Linked DNA regions of Homo sapiens: all the other regions are linked to region 3. Evidence: promoter capture Hi-C in 16 types of primary human blood cells and fetal thymus (Javierre and others, 2016). All regions are on one chromosome and are shown on one strand. Each heading gives the region's core, a stretch centred on a gene start or on the middle of the fragment in contact. The rest is flanking DNA. Distances are from core to core; before and after follow the strand shown. Region 1 overlaps CBR4-DT (CBR4 divergent transcript). Region 2 overlaps DDX60 (DExD/H-box helicase 60). Region 3 holds the start of FBXO8 (F-box protein 8). Region 4 holds the start of LOC124900181 (small nucleolar RNA SNORA51).

Region 1 (3,651 bases), core at 686-3,185, 5.3 Mb before region 3:
TGGCAAACCAAGACGACCTGATCACGTAGTTAGAACCCAGAGAAAGCATTACTGGGCGTGAGCCGGTCGGGGCTCCGGTATTTGCCCTTCGCCCAGGTGTTGTTTTGGCTACAGACTTGATGTCCTACCTGTTGAAGAAGTCCCCAAGAATCGCACCCACACCAAAACCTACCCTACCTGTTCCTCCCCCAGGTTGCTGTAGAAATGGACCTCTACCCGCCCAGATGTTACCATTCATCGCGAAGGGTGTCGTGAAGATGAATGCCCTGTCGAACATCATCCAGCAGGAGGTCAAGGAATTTTAACTGAATGATTGAATAGTCTTGCAAGATCTATGAAACAAGCTTCGGCTGCTGTAGAGAAACAAAAATGGGTTCCTGCAATTCTAAATAAGATGTACTGGGTGCTCTGAGAGTTAATAAGCTAAAAAATTCAATGTTTGTTACAATTATAGTGTAAACAGAAAGCATTTCTGATACAATATTATTTTACTAGATTCAGAAAAGTATGAGCCATGGTCCCTACCACTAAAAAAACTACAACCCAGAACTACAGGACTAATACACATGAAACACTAGGAGGTATCCAAAATCATACTTAGTAAAATGCAAAATTATATTAACACAAGAGCTCCGAGAAAATGGAGATCAGTGAAGAATGAAGGGGTGCATGGAAAAGCTGGATTTGAGGGCTGGATGAGGTTTGAAAAAAGGAAAACAAGAGCAAAAAGTCTATAAATAAGCAAGTTGAGCATTAATTTAAATTTGTTATTCCTATTCCATTTAGATCCAAAAAAAGATTTGAAATGGTTTGCAAAAATACATGAGTATTTGAATTTAAAAGGCAAAGAGGACCACTGCCCCTTCTCCCACAAGGCCAGAACAATAAATTAGGTCAGTGGAAAAAATACGAATAAAGTCATGCTATAAGAATCTATTTAGTATTAAAGAAGAGATTCATAAACTTAGAGTTTCCTGCCAGCGAAAGCAACAAAGGAAATATAATTACAAGTGGTAATTTCTGTAAGAAATCAGCCTCCTGGTTATGCAGCAGAGAAGCCTGAGCAAAACTCCCTCCTCATAGGTCCTCCTAAATGGCACACTAAGCATTGTAGTAGACAGTGAGCTTCATGAAAAGAAAAAGAGATTGTAAGGCTGTTTTCATAGCATCTATTAGACTTTATTAAAAGCAAATACAATAGGAAGTTAAACAATATAAGCAAACAGTCACACATAAAAATTGTGTCTTTGAAACAATATATGTTTGAAACAATGAGGAAACAAGCCTGAGGAAATTTGGGATGGTGCTATATTATAGTCAGCTTTAAAGTCAGGTGCCAAGCATTAAACAGGCCTTTAACTGCAGAAGTAATAAGATAAGAGCTGCATTTAAGAACTATTAGCAGGCCAGGCGTGGTGGCTCATGCCTGTAATCCCAGCACTTTGGGAGGCTGAGACAGGAGGATTGCTTGAGTCTAGAAGTTCAAAACCAACCCAGGAAACACAGCAAGACCCCCACCCCCCCGACCCCCATCTCTACAGAAAATACAAAAAAAAATTAGCTGGACATGGTGGCCTACCTGTGGTCCCAGCTACTCGGGAGGCTGAGTTGGGAGGATCATGTAAGTCCAGGAGGTCAAGGCTGCAGTGAGCCATGATTGCACCACTGCAGTCCAGCCTGCATGACACAGCAGGACCCTGTCTCAAAATAACAGTGTTCTAAAAAACAAACAAACAGTTTCCCAGTGATGTAAAAATGGGTCAGATCAAATTTGTCTATTCACTTTCCTACTATACACTATGCAATCTTGGAAAGAAAAAACTGTTTTACATAAATTACCAATATAAGGGTCAGCCTAAATGCCAACTGTATTCCTGCACCTTAGGTCAAACCAGAGAGGTTTATCTTTTGAACAGTTCTCTCCATTTGCTAGGAAAATGATTATTTTTTTTTCTACACATTGTTATTTTAGCAAAAAAAAATGGTTTTTAGATCTATGCCATCTATCATGAAGATCACTAACACATGATATGAGGTGACATTCAGAATTCTGAAAACCTTCCAACTTTTCTCACTGTATATATACTGTAAATGGATAAGCTGGGCTTTTTATTCAACACATACCTCAGGTTAAACCTCAAGGTTATTATTTATTTTTTTTCCCTCTTAATACAATATCACCACTATCCCGGGTGAGAATACATCTATCACAGCACATCACCCATTAGCTGAGAAGGTTACAGCAGGGGAAGTTTCTCTGTAAGCCCCTGATAGTGAAGTGAGGATCTGTAAATTAAACTGGGTCTCCCCTACCCAGCAGGACATTGAAGGAAGCCATTAGAATGACCCACCTTTAGTCTTTCCTTCTCACTAAACATGCCACTTTTGTGGTAATATTTTAACCATATGTTATACTTTAACTTAAATCCACATAGGATATATTTTCTCTTGGCTCCCACAATCGAAGGAGAAAATTCCTTATGTATAAGGACTGTTATACAAATTTTTAAATATGCATACCTAGTATTACTTTTCTGATTACAAAAGGAATACCATTTAATTGCTAACAGTTAGAAAACATAAACTTTTTAAAGTAAATAAAAACTCATTGAAAGCATTGTACACTTTAAGCGTGTGAATTGTATCGTATGCAAATTATATCCCAATGGAACTGTTATTGAAAAAGATGTAATTTAAAGCCTACTGCCCTGTTATACGAAATTTGAATCTGCAACTAATTATAAGGGGGTTGTACCTTTCATGAATATTTTTTTCATACGTCAAGATTTATAATGCCCAAGATTCCAAATATGCAGGAAAATTTATTTATAAGAAATTTATGAATTATGATTGAATATTCATTGAGAATCCTCTTTACAAATGCACCATACTAAGCACATCCAGCTTATCAGATCCATAATTGAAGCATAACCCTTCCTGCCAGCAAGCAGTCTCCCAGGATTCTTCAGGCAGTGATGATAATCTGCACGACCCAAATTGCATGTGGCCAGCTAACTTCTCCATACAGACCATGCTCTTCTTTCAAGAAGAAAGATTAGAAAGCTGCCTTAGTGTGGCTGCACAGATATAACTTTTATGATTAAAAAGCATGTTGATTTCCTCATTGGCATTCTTGTATCCAATCTGCTGGGTAATCTAAATTGTAAGGAATGTACTTTTTATCACTTACAAAAGTTTATTTCATTTTGATTGGGAACAAAAAATGTGGCCCATGAGCTTGTTATTTTGTTGAATTGGCGTTTATGCCTCTGAGGCTGCCCACCGAGACCTAAACCTGGCACTCAGTTGCCTAAGGCAGAAGCATGGAGTTTATTCCTTCCCTCTCTCAACATCCCACATCCAATCAGTCACAAAGTCCTGCTGATTCTACTCCCTAAATACCATTCCAACTTCTACACATCCATGCTTCTCCAAACACTGTCTTCTCAACCTCGAATGCTCCCACTGCTTTCCCTGGTAACATCTGATTTATCATTCAAAATGTGGCTCAAACATCTCTTGCAATGGAAGCTTCTCCTGACCCAAAGGAGGACATGCTGATGTCCTTCTTTACCCGTCCTCTTACCTTGTATGTGTCTTCAAGTCTGTATTTCATGGAGTTACTGTGACGTCAGAATCCACATAATTTTA
Region 2 (3,489 bases), core at 431-2,930, 6.0 Mb before region 3:
TCGTCCTAGAATGAAAAGTTAGCCACTGATGGATTTTAAGCAGGTGGTATTGTGATTGGCTTTGCACTTTGAAAAGATTAGTCCAGCTACAATATAGAGAATAAACAGGATGGGAGTAAGCTTCTTAGTAGAGCAGAAAGAAAGTTACTGTGCAGGAGAGTAATGATGATAATTTGATGTAATATAGTTTGATGGTAGCTGAGATAATAAAGCTGGAGAGATGTGGACTCACTTGAAGGACATTTAGGAGATGAGCTTGACATAATTTGGAACTGGACTGGATGTGGATGGACAAGAGAGGAAAGGGGGTTGTCAAGGATGACACAAGTTTCTAGCTCAAGTAACAGGATGGATGACTAGGCCATTCCCTGGGCTGGGAATTTTAGAACAAGGCTACGTGTCAGGAAAAGATTATGGCGGCATTTGTGAACCACCTGAATTTGACTTGCTTTCAAGATTCCCCATAAGCCATGATATGTAAGTAGTAAAATATACAAGTCTAGAGGACAAATACAAAGTCTGGACTAGATTTGAAGAGGTAAGTCATCTGAGTATTAACGGTAAATGAGGCCATTGGTGTAGATGAGCTTGCTTGGACAGGGAGAGACAGCATCATGGGAGAAGAGTACTAAAAACCCACATTTGAAGATACTAATACTTAATATATCAAGAGAGGAGGAAGAATCCACAAAGGTAATAGAGAAGAAAATACTAAAGAGGTAGATGAAAATGCACTTGAGCATTTTGTCATGGACACTAAATATTGAGACACTTGCCATTCAATATGTTAGGGCTATGAAACAGATAGGTAGATACACACATGATTTATGGATAGATAGTAGATAGATTGATTGATATAGATAGATATAGATGATGGATACACAGATAGATAGATAGATAGATATGATAGAGAGAGAGAGATTCCTATTCCATGATAGTAAGGAACATATAATGGTGATGCACATGCTGATATTAAATATTACAATAATAATGCAAGGAAGTATATGACTGTAATGACAAATAAGTTTAAAGAAAAATGGAATTACTGTGGGCTGGGGAGTTTAGGGACCCTTAATGGAGACACGAGCGTAAGTATGGTCTCTCACTCACTCAGTTACTATCTTATTTCAAAGATTATAGAGTATCTACACTTTACAAAACATTGTACTTGCTGAAACATATGCAAATATGCATGAAGCATGATTCTCTCCTTGTACAACCCAGTGTAAGTTGAAAGATAACTAAGTGACACACTACATCTAATTTGCTGTGTTCTAGCAGAAATGGCACAGGAAGCCATTAGAGAATTGAGAGGGAGTTCCTAAATCAGAATGAAGGGATCAGGGTCCTGTGTTCTGAGGTTTCAAGAACAGGTTGAAAAGATGATGAAGACTTATGAAAGCATGTTGGGGAAAGTGAGAGATATAGAGAATTACTTTTCAGGTAGCAAAATCAGCATCAGTTTAATGCATAAAGTTGTGAAACTACATGACAAGTTTGAGATCCTATGGGTTGTTCTACATGGCATAGGACAGGGTGACTCATTGGAGATGACATTGGAAAGGTAGGTTAGAACCAGACTATAATGGGTCTTGTGCCCAGGTCAGGAGATTAGGTATTTTCAAAAAACTCTCTGTCACCCATTTCATGCAATCCTCCACCTCACTAACTGTGCATTGGCCATACTATCTTTCTTCAACTCTCCAAATTGTACCAAGCTCAAATGGAAAAAAATGGGTCAGTGAGAACTGAACAGGCAAGAGAGAATTAACCCCAAGTATATTACAGAAAACTTCAGAAAGGATAGCATCAGATTCTACAAGATGAAATAAGTTAATTTACAGGTTCCCAGATGTTCACGATGCTCTTAGAGTCTCAGGAATTTTTTTATGCCACTCCTAGGACAAAATCAATAGCTAACCGTTTCATTTATTAAGTAGTTAGATACAAACAAATTAATAACTATTTATGTCCTGACAACTTAGAAATTGTTTTAAGAAATAATATACATAGATTAAAAGGAATAATATAGTTTTTATAATGAAATATAACTATGACTGAGACGTGAGTGCCCGTTAAACACTGTGAAACTTTCAGCAATAGCTATGGTGACAAAATAAAACTGCGTTAATGGGCAATCCCTCCTTAATTTGACAATCAAGGGATTCCGTAGCCTGCCTATGGGAAGTTTGAGATCCTACAGGTTGCTCTGCATGACATAGGACAGGGTATGCAAGACAATGCGTGTAAAGCCTAATAGGCTTTCCTCTTACATGCCCTATACTAAAGTAGGCTTACACACCCTAGGCTTTCCTCTTATATACCCTATACTAGAGCTACCCTATTAACCTCTGCCCCAACACATGCACGCCCTAACACCTAAACAGAATTCACAGTCATTATCCCCACTTCTCTGTCATTTAAGGGAGAGACATGCTAGAGATCCAGCCACCTGTAGTAACTAATGATTGAACACTCACACACACACACACACACACAAATTAGTACCAATAGACATTTGAGGCACACAAAAAAAGCAAAAATAAGAAACCAGATGAATAAGCATGATGCAGAGACAGAAAAGACCTTCAAAATTTTCTAATTACTGCTTTCAAAGAATTAAAAATATTTCTCATAAAATAGTAACAGGCTGCTAGAGAGAGAGAAAGAGAAAAAGAAAGCATGCAAGTATTCGTACACATTTAAAACATAATTTTACAAGGAAGAAAGTCATTGCAGAACAATAAAATGAGCATGCTGGAATTTTTAGTCAGTGATCTGTAGGGTTAAAGTCCAGGAAATTTTGTAAAGGATAAAAGTAAAAGACAAAGAGATGAAAAAATTCTAAAAATACTAAAATATCCAGGAATAAGTCAATAAGCTCTTTCTCCCCCTACTAATATTTCTAGTAGGAGATAACTAAGATTCCAAAATGAGTGGGGATAAAAATAATCAAAGATATATACTTAAACTAATATACTAATATTAGACTAGAACTAAAGAACAACATAATGTGTTTAGATTGAAATGTTTCTCTAACTACTGAGTAGAAATAATGACAAAAGAGAAAACTACGCCTAGGCACAACTTGTTAAAATTGCAGAGCTCCAAGAATAAAGAGAAAGACAGAAAAGGTACAAAGAAATGGAAGTCAGGCCATATGAGAACTGGTTTAAGAAATGAACACTGTTGGCCGACTACTTGCATTTTAATCTTGGTTCTGAAATATACTATAGTTCTATAAGCTTAGACAAGGTATTTACCATCTCTGAGTTTCAATTTACTTATCTATAAAATTGGAACAATAATATTACTCACCTCTGATTGTGTTTTCAAGCTACTTAAATGTATGAACTGATGGATACGAATTGATTAAAATAATACCTGGCACACAGAATTAATTAAAATAAGCAACATTCCTGGATGTTTTGATAAAATAAAGCACTTTCAGATTTCTAAAGGGAAAATAATTTGAACTTAGAATTCTGC
Region 3 (3,688 bases), core at 302-2,801:
AATGTTTTTATATTGTAAAATGAGGAAGATATCTTTTAACCTAGCAACAGTAAACACACAAAACATTCCCCATTAAAGTGACCATATGTAATAAATTATGATCAATGTTTTGGCTTATCTAGAAGTTACTATAATATTTTGTGGATGGAAGTAATTGATCCAAGGGCCCCAAGTAATATTAGTTAATTTGCTGTAACTTATTATTAAATGAAGTTACGCTGCACCCTAATTCCTGATGTACAGAAACTGATAATATTTGTTGTTTTAAGCTGGGGTAAATTTGGGGGTAATTTGTTACCCAGCAATAGACAACTAATGAAGTACCTCATCAGACATATTGTCAGGTTAATTGGCTAAAGATGAATTTCTGACCCAATATGAAAAAAATAATAAAACTTATGCATTCTTTATTCTGAAACCTACTCTGTTTCACATATCATTTTCGTGAAGGGTAGAGTTGAGAAGTGTGTAGAGCTCCTACCTCAGAAATACATTACTTCAAACATTAAAAGAAGGAAGAGGAAAGCTGAAATAGAAAACATAAATTGTCTTCACTTTACCGTAATAAAAATCATGATATATTCATTTGTGGATATACACCTAGGAGCCTTGAAAATGAATATTTTACTTGTAAAACAAGTAGAATCAATTATTTTATTAGTAAATTCATACAGAACCTAAAAATAAAACTAAAAAAATTAAATGACTGAGGATTGGGATCCATTTATGTGATTTTGCCAAATAAATATTGAGAACCTTCTACGTAAGAGATTAGAACCCAGTCGCTGAGAAACAAATAAAAGACAAGTTTGACAAGTTTTATAACCCAAGTTTGACTACTGTAGCAGCTAGCAATCCATCGTGATCTTAACTATACTTGTGTTTGCATTCATATTACTGGAAAGTGGTAAAGAACCAAAAACTGTCTAGGAACCAAAATAACACTCGACCCGAAAACCAACACTTGGACCTGAAGAAAGTAACCCTTGTCATTTCTCAGGTTTATTTCACAATGACGCTGGGTTACTACTTGGAGTCCTAAACCGAACTACACCCCAATGGCCTAGAAACAGAAGGAACACACCCAGTTCCGCCTCCTGACAGTGATTCCTCACTTTAATGAGCCACCACTACTGTCACTCAAGATGCTTCGCACTGTCATTGGTCGCAAACTCTTGCTGGTCGGCCAGTTTCGGCCAACTGGCAAGCACTGGTTGTCTTTATTTTCGAGAAAAGTGAAGGTGAACAGGGAAAAGAGACAAGAGATCTAAAATATCTAGGTTGACTCCTGTACCTGAGCGACCTGCGATCTCCACCGCCGCCGCGACGAATTGGCCTCTGGGCGGGGACTTTTAGCCAAAAGGAAAATGGCTCAGCCGGGAACTGGTGCCCAGGCCATGGAGAAGCTGATTCAAACTTTACTTGTCCACACCGGTAGAGGTGACCGCGATGAGAATACCAGAAACAGCACTACGACCCTCAGAACTCAGGGTACCTCCAGCTGCAGGGGCCAGAACTGCCGACTATCCCAATTTTGACGTTTCCTATTGTTGCCGGAAGTGACGTTAGGCTCCGACTCTTAACGGAGACGCATTTTTATTTCTGTTGTTTACGATTCGCTATAGATTCCTTGTTTCTCACTTCGTAGCACGAGCCACTCTGACCATCAAGATCAGAAAAACTTCTCAGCTGCAAGTTAGAAGTGGACTGGCCATTGAGGAGGCTCTCAGCGGAGTCGCTCTTCACAGGAGTCTTGAACGCGGTGTGGAATCGGCAGCGAGGAATCCTGGAGCACAGAGAAGCTCCCAGCTTTGAAGGTCTTGCGGTGGTGCGTGGCGGGCAGGAACCCACAATTCCAAATACAAACGGTCGGCGCGAGAAGCGCTTCTGGGCGCAGGCGCCTGGCTGTAGCGACTGGTTGCGGGAGGCTGGACTCTGGTGACTGTGTATGGTTGCATATGCTCCGTTTTCCTCTCCCTGTCGTGCTGGGCCTTTGAAACCGGCTTCTTTGCTGGTGGCTGCTTGGTGAGCCCCGAGGAGACGGCAAGGCTGCGCCTGGTATTGGGCGGAGGTCGCCTCTCTCCGCCGTCCTTACAGAGACCCCGGGCGGAGACGAATGACCAGATCCGCCTTTTCATTCTTTTAAATCAAATGGCGGGAGGGGAGCCTTGCTTATATACCCAACTAGTATATGCTTTTAGTCACAACGAAGTGGGAAGTATCGTGGTAGCTCATCCTATCAGAATTAGGTTGTGACTTAGGGTTGGAAAGTTATAGGCTTACTGATTCCTATTGGATCCTCTGGGGTGAGGATACAAACGGCTCCTGACTATAAGGAAGACAGGACAGCAGTTCGTGTTTTCCTTGTTGGCATTTCCCCAGCTTTTCAAATATTTCTCCACCTTTATTGAAGGCTACAGATTTTTCCCTCACTGTAACAAGTTAATCTTGAAGTTGTTATTCTCTTTTACTCTGGAATTATGGCCATGCTAGACTGTTTTTTTCCCGAATTATCTGCAGACCTTTTAATTTTATGTGTGAACACAGCAGTCCCGTTGAACTCTTTACTTGTCCCTTACTCCTCCCCACTCCCGCCCAGCTTTCTCGATGCTTTGCCTTTCTCAGACCTTTCTCCTATCTCTTAGAGAAGTATTTCCCTAATATCTTTTGCAGTTTCATAAACTGTTTTTCTCATCTTTACTTTTTTGTTTTTGATACGTGTTTTTAGATAATATCGAGCATTATGTGCTATGTCACAAACTCTTAGCCATTGACTGTTATTAGAGTCAGTGTAGTTGCTTCATTCTAAACAAAAATCACTCTGGTCCAGTGACATTCTATTGGGAGGCATTGTTTTAATGACCTCTAACAGCAATGAGATTGAGCGATGTTGAAAATCCTAAACTGCTAGAGTACACTATTTTCACAACCTCTCCCACAAGTTCAATTGCGCAGATCTGACTTGTAGACAAGGAAGGAAGCTAGAAAGGAATATTGAGAGCTTCTTTATTATTGAATCTATGCTGCAAGCTGAGTGGTATCTCCTTTTTTCCTTAGTTTGCCTTTGATCAGTGCTATAAGTTGAAAATGTTAAATTTTTAAAAGTATTTTTCATTAATGAAAGTAAGGTGTTAAAATGTACATAAGTAATAGATTGGCTTCTTTTAATGTCTTGTTTTTAAGGCTTTTGAATTTTATAGTAGACTTAGTAAAGCCCTTTGTGAGAATGTAGAGCAGTAGCTGTAATTTTATTCTGTGATAATCCCAATTTTAAATCCCTTTATTTTTCTGTCTCCTATCACTTACCTCGTTCACGAGCTCTGCTTGTATTACTCTTCAAAATATTTATTCACTGGTACTGAAGAGAGACATAACTTTGTTGTCAGAAATTCCATTATCAGAGGTAGAAATCATGTAAGAGACACTGAAATGTTTTCCAAAATGTCAGAAAAAGGAAAGGTGAGAAGATATCATAAAGTGTTACGTAAAACAGAATTACTTGCACTGGGAAAATGGAATATACATCTGGAAGGACTAAAGGAAGTCTGGAAAGACATAGAATTTACATTAAAGTTACTGGGAAGAAGGTATCCCTAGAAGAATTGTGTTACGATAGATGGGTCTGGAACCCGAAAGAAGCTCAGACCTACTATATTGGCCAGTGGCAAAATCCAAGAATACATTTTTT
Region 4 (3,545 bases), core at 960-3,459, 5.8 Mb before region 3:
AATAATGGATACTTTCCCTTTAAGATCAAGAACCAGGTAAAGATTCCCACTCACTCTACTTCAGCATTTCTAGAGATGCCAATCACTGTAATAAGGCAAGAAAAAGCAATTAAAAAATAAAATTGGAAAATAAGAAATAAGCATGTATTTATTCACTGAAGACATTAAAAAATCTAAGAAATATACAAATAAGCCACTGAAATTAATAAGTTGTTTTAATAAGATTGCAGGATACCAGTTAACAAACAAAAATCAATTCTACTTCTATATACAAGCAGCAAAAACTAAAAAATTATTTTTAAAAATTCAATTTACGGTAAGATCAAAACATGAAATATCTTGAAATAGATTTAGCAAAAGATGTGCAACGCCTCCACACTGAAGACTACAAAACTGATAAAACAAATTAGAGATCTTAAAAAACAGAGATACATATTGTGTTCACTAACTGAAAGACTATATTGGTCTACAAATTTAATGAATATCATTAAAATCCCATCGTTCTTTTTAAATAGAAATTGGCAAGCTGATTCTAAAATTCGTGTGGAAATGCAGAGAACCTAGAATAGCCAAAGTTAAACAAAGAAGAACAAAGTGGGCTTCAAGATTTACTATAAAATTACACAAATCAGGACATTGTGGTACTGGTAATTTGTTAAATCCTTTGATGGAACATAGTAGAAAGCCCAGAAATGGACCTACACATATATAATCATTTGATTTTTTGATGAAGAAACCAAAGCAATCCACTGGTGGAAGAAAAATGTTCTCAACAATGGATGCTGGAACAAATCAACCTCAATCCCCCATTCACACCACAAACACACAAAAATTAATTCAAGAAATATCATAGACCAAAATGCAAAAGCTGAAACTACATACTTCTAGAATTATTAATAAATATAGGAAAATATCTTTGTGACTAAGAGATAGGCAATGATTCTTATCAGGATACAGGCACAATAACCATTAAAGAATAATAAGTTAGATTTCACCAAAATTAAAATATCTGGTCATCCAAAGATAGTACTAAGAAAACGAAGTGGCAGCCGGGCACGGTGGCTGATGCCTGTAATCCCAGCACTTTGGGAGGCAGAGGCGGGTAGATCACGAGGTCCGGAGATTGAGACCATCCTGCTAACACGATGAAACCCCATGTCTACTAAAAATACAAAAAAATTAGCCGGGCATGGTAGTGCATGCCTGTAGTTCCAAGTACTTAGGAGGCTGAGGCAGGAGAATGGCATGAACCCGGGAGGCAGAGGTTGCAGTGAGCCAAGATTGCGCCACTGCACTCCAGCCTACGTGACAGAGCGAGACTCTGTCTCAAAATGAAGTGACAAGCCACAGACTGGGAAAATATATTTGCAATAATATACATGACAAGAGGTTGTATACAGAATATATCAAGAACTACTACAACTCAATATTAAAAAGATAAAGAACCCAATTTAAAATGGTCAAAAGATACGAGCAGATGCTTCACAAGTCATAGTATACAAATGAACAATAAGCACTTGAAAAAGTAGGCAACATCATTAGCCATTTGATAAATACCAATTAAAACACAGGGACATAACACTACACATCCACCAGAATGGCTGGACTGACCAAATACAAATGTTTGCAACTACACAGGGCACCAGAACTGTTATTCATTGCTGGAGTGAGTGTAAAGGGGCACAACTACCTTAGGAAAAGCTTTGGCAGTTTTATAAAACATATATTTCAACCACAGATACATGCACAAGGAAAATAAAAACTTACGTCCACACGAAGACTTGCATGTGAATGCACATAGTAGCTTTATTCATCTAGGCAAGATATTGAAAGAGATTGCTCAACAGGAAAGTGTCCACTCAACAAGAAAATGGGTAAACAAACCGTGGCACATTTCTACAATAAAACCTTACTCAAAAGTGATAAAAGGAACAAAATACCACTGCACACAACAAAATGGATGCCTCTCAAAAATATTATGTTGAATGAAAGGTTTATACAAAGAGTTCATACTGTAAAATTCTATTTATTAAAAGTTCTAGAACTTTGGGAGACCAAGGCGGGTGGATTGCCTCAGGTCAGGTGTTCGACACCAGCCTGACCAATATGATGAAACCCTGTCTCTACTAAAAATACAAAAATTAGCTGAGCATGGTGGCACGCGCCTGTAATCCCAGCTACTTGGGAGGCTGAGAGAGTAGAATCACTTGAACCTAGGAGGTGGAGGTTGCAGTGAGCCGAGATCACGGCATTGCACTTCAGCCTGTGCAAAAAGAGCGAAACTCCATCTAAAAAAAAAAAAAGAAAGTTCTACAACAGGCAAAACTCAAGAAGGCAATAGAAAGGATTTAAACAGTGGTTGCTTCTAGGGGATGGGATGAGGATGGACTGGGCAGGGGCATGAGAAGACGTATTGTGGAACAAGAGTTTGGGTTACACGTGCATGCGTGTGTCAAAACTCAATGTACTGGTAAATACTATGCACGTGCCAAAGATCGTTAAATGGCATTAGGTTGGAGCAAAACTTTTTGTAACACATTTAAGATCTGTGCATTTTATTTCATGTAAATTTTACCATCAAAAAAACCTGCAAATAAGTACCGAACTCTAGTTAATGGCATGTATGATGAAGTGTTTCAGAGTTAAATGTAATGTCTACAACTATTTTGAAACGTACCCCCAAAATAAAAGGATTGACAGGTGAATAAAGGCATGGATAAGCTTACAGATATATGAAGAAGTAAGTAAAATAAAATGTAATTGTAGGATTTAGATGGTGGGATATAGATATTTGCTCTACAACCTTTCAACTTACCTGTATTTGAAATTTTATAATAAAATATTGAAACTTAAAGAATGGGCTTGCTGGTGCTTACCACAGGCTGAATTCTTACACTGACTATATAGAAAAGGAGGTAGAGTAAACCTACCCAATATACCCCTCAGCCCAGGCTCTGTGCCTGATCTATATTGTGAATGTGGGAACATAGAGTTGAGGGAAAAAAATTTAATAAAATAAAAAATAAAGAATGGTTATCTCTGAGTAGTGAAATTATGGGTAATTTTTTCTTTTGTTAACCTGTCTTTTTATATTTTCTATGATGACATGCTTCATTTTAGGTCAAAGGCTCTTTAGGTTAAGACATTTCAGTTATAGTCTTCAAAGGACTAAAACGACATCAATCATCATATATTACCTTAAAGAAAACTATGGTGAATTGTCCTCCGTTACTCAGAAGATCCACAAGATAGCATTCAACCAGATAGAAAAAGTGGAGATTCTGTCCCCACTTGAATGATTTTACACCCAGGCATGTGACAAGCAAGGAATCTCCATCAATCACAAAAAAATTAGATTCCACAAAATCATTTAATATGCTGGAATACCTAAAATAAAAATCAAAGAGAATAAAAATCACAGATGTTTCACAGAGACTTTGTTGCTGTTGTTGTTACTATTATTGCATAAGCTACTGTTTGTTGAGTACCTCATGCCAGTCCATGATGCCTTTTCAAATACCTCATTTAAGCAACTGTCCTTTATA

What was found. Contacts are between HindIII fragments. The CHiCAGO score rates a contact against its expected background, and 5 or more counts as called.
Region 1: a fragment that was not itself captured here is called in contact with the fragment with the promoter of FBXO8 in region 3 in 7 of 17 cell types (total CD4 T cells, non-activated CD4 T cells, activated CD4 T cells and 4 more); the score reaches 14.8 in total CD4 T cells.
Region 2: a contact is called between a fragment that was not itself captured here and the fragment with the promoter of FBXO8 in region 3, in 1 of 17 cell types (non-activated CD4 T cells). The highest score is 5.6, in non-activated CD4 T cells.
Region 4: a fragment that was not itself captured here is called in contact with the fragment with the promoter of FBXO8 in region 3 in 1 of 17 cell types (total CD4 T cells); the score reaches 6.4 in total CD4 T cells.

The regions. Positions count from the first base shown.
Region 1 is chr4:169,010,592-169,014,242 of GRCh38, forward strand. CBR4-DT (CBR4 divergent transcript) reads left to right here. Exons shown (of 2, transcript NR_185919.1): 2 at 193-469. Among named protein-coding and RNA genes, the nearest start is that of CBR4-DT, 2.0 kb to the left of the region's middle. RefSeq lists an enhancer at 1-43. The HindIII fragment of the contact is 3,187 bases long and covers 343-3,529 here.
Region 2 is chr4:168,311,845-168,315,333 of GRCh38, forward strand. The region is part of intron 1 of DDX60 (DExD/H-box helicase 60); the gene reads right to left. Among named protein-coding and RNA genes, the nearest start is that of DDX60, 5.2 kb to the right of the region's middle. The HindIII fragment of the contact is 3,125 bases long and covers 119-3,243 here.
Region 3 is chr4:174,282,116-174,285,803 of GRCh38, forward strand. FBXO8 (F-box protein 8) reads right to left here and starts at 1,552. Exons shown (of 6, transcript NM_012180.3): 1 at 1,295-1,552. It overlaps CEP44 (centrosomal protein 44), which reads left to right and starts at 1,796. Exons shown (of 12, transcript NM_001040157.3): 1 at 1,796-1,828. RefSeq lists an enhancer at 1,747-1,996 and a silencer at 1,761-2,028. The HindIII fragment of the contact is 4,999 bases long and covers 1-3,688 here.
Region 4 is chr4:168,468,550-168,472,094 of GRCh38, forward strand. DDX60L (DExD/H-box 60 like) reads right to left here. Exons shown (of 38, transcript NM_001012967.3): 4 at 3,198-3,387. LOC124900181 (small nucleolar RNA SNORA51) reads left to right here and starts at 2,860; the gene lies at 2,860-2,990. The HindIII fragment of the contact is 1,020 bases long and covers 1,700-2,719 here.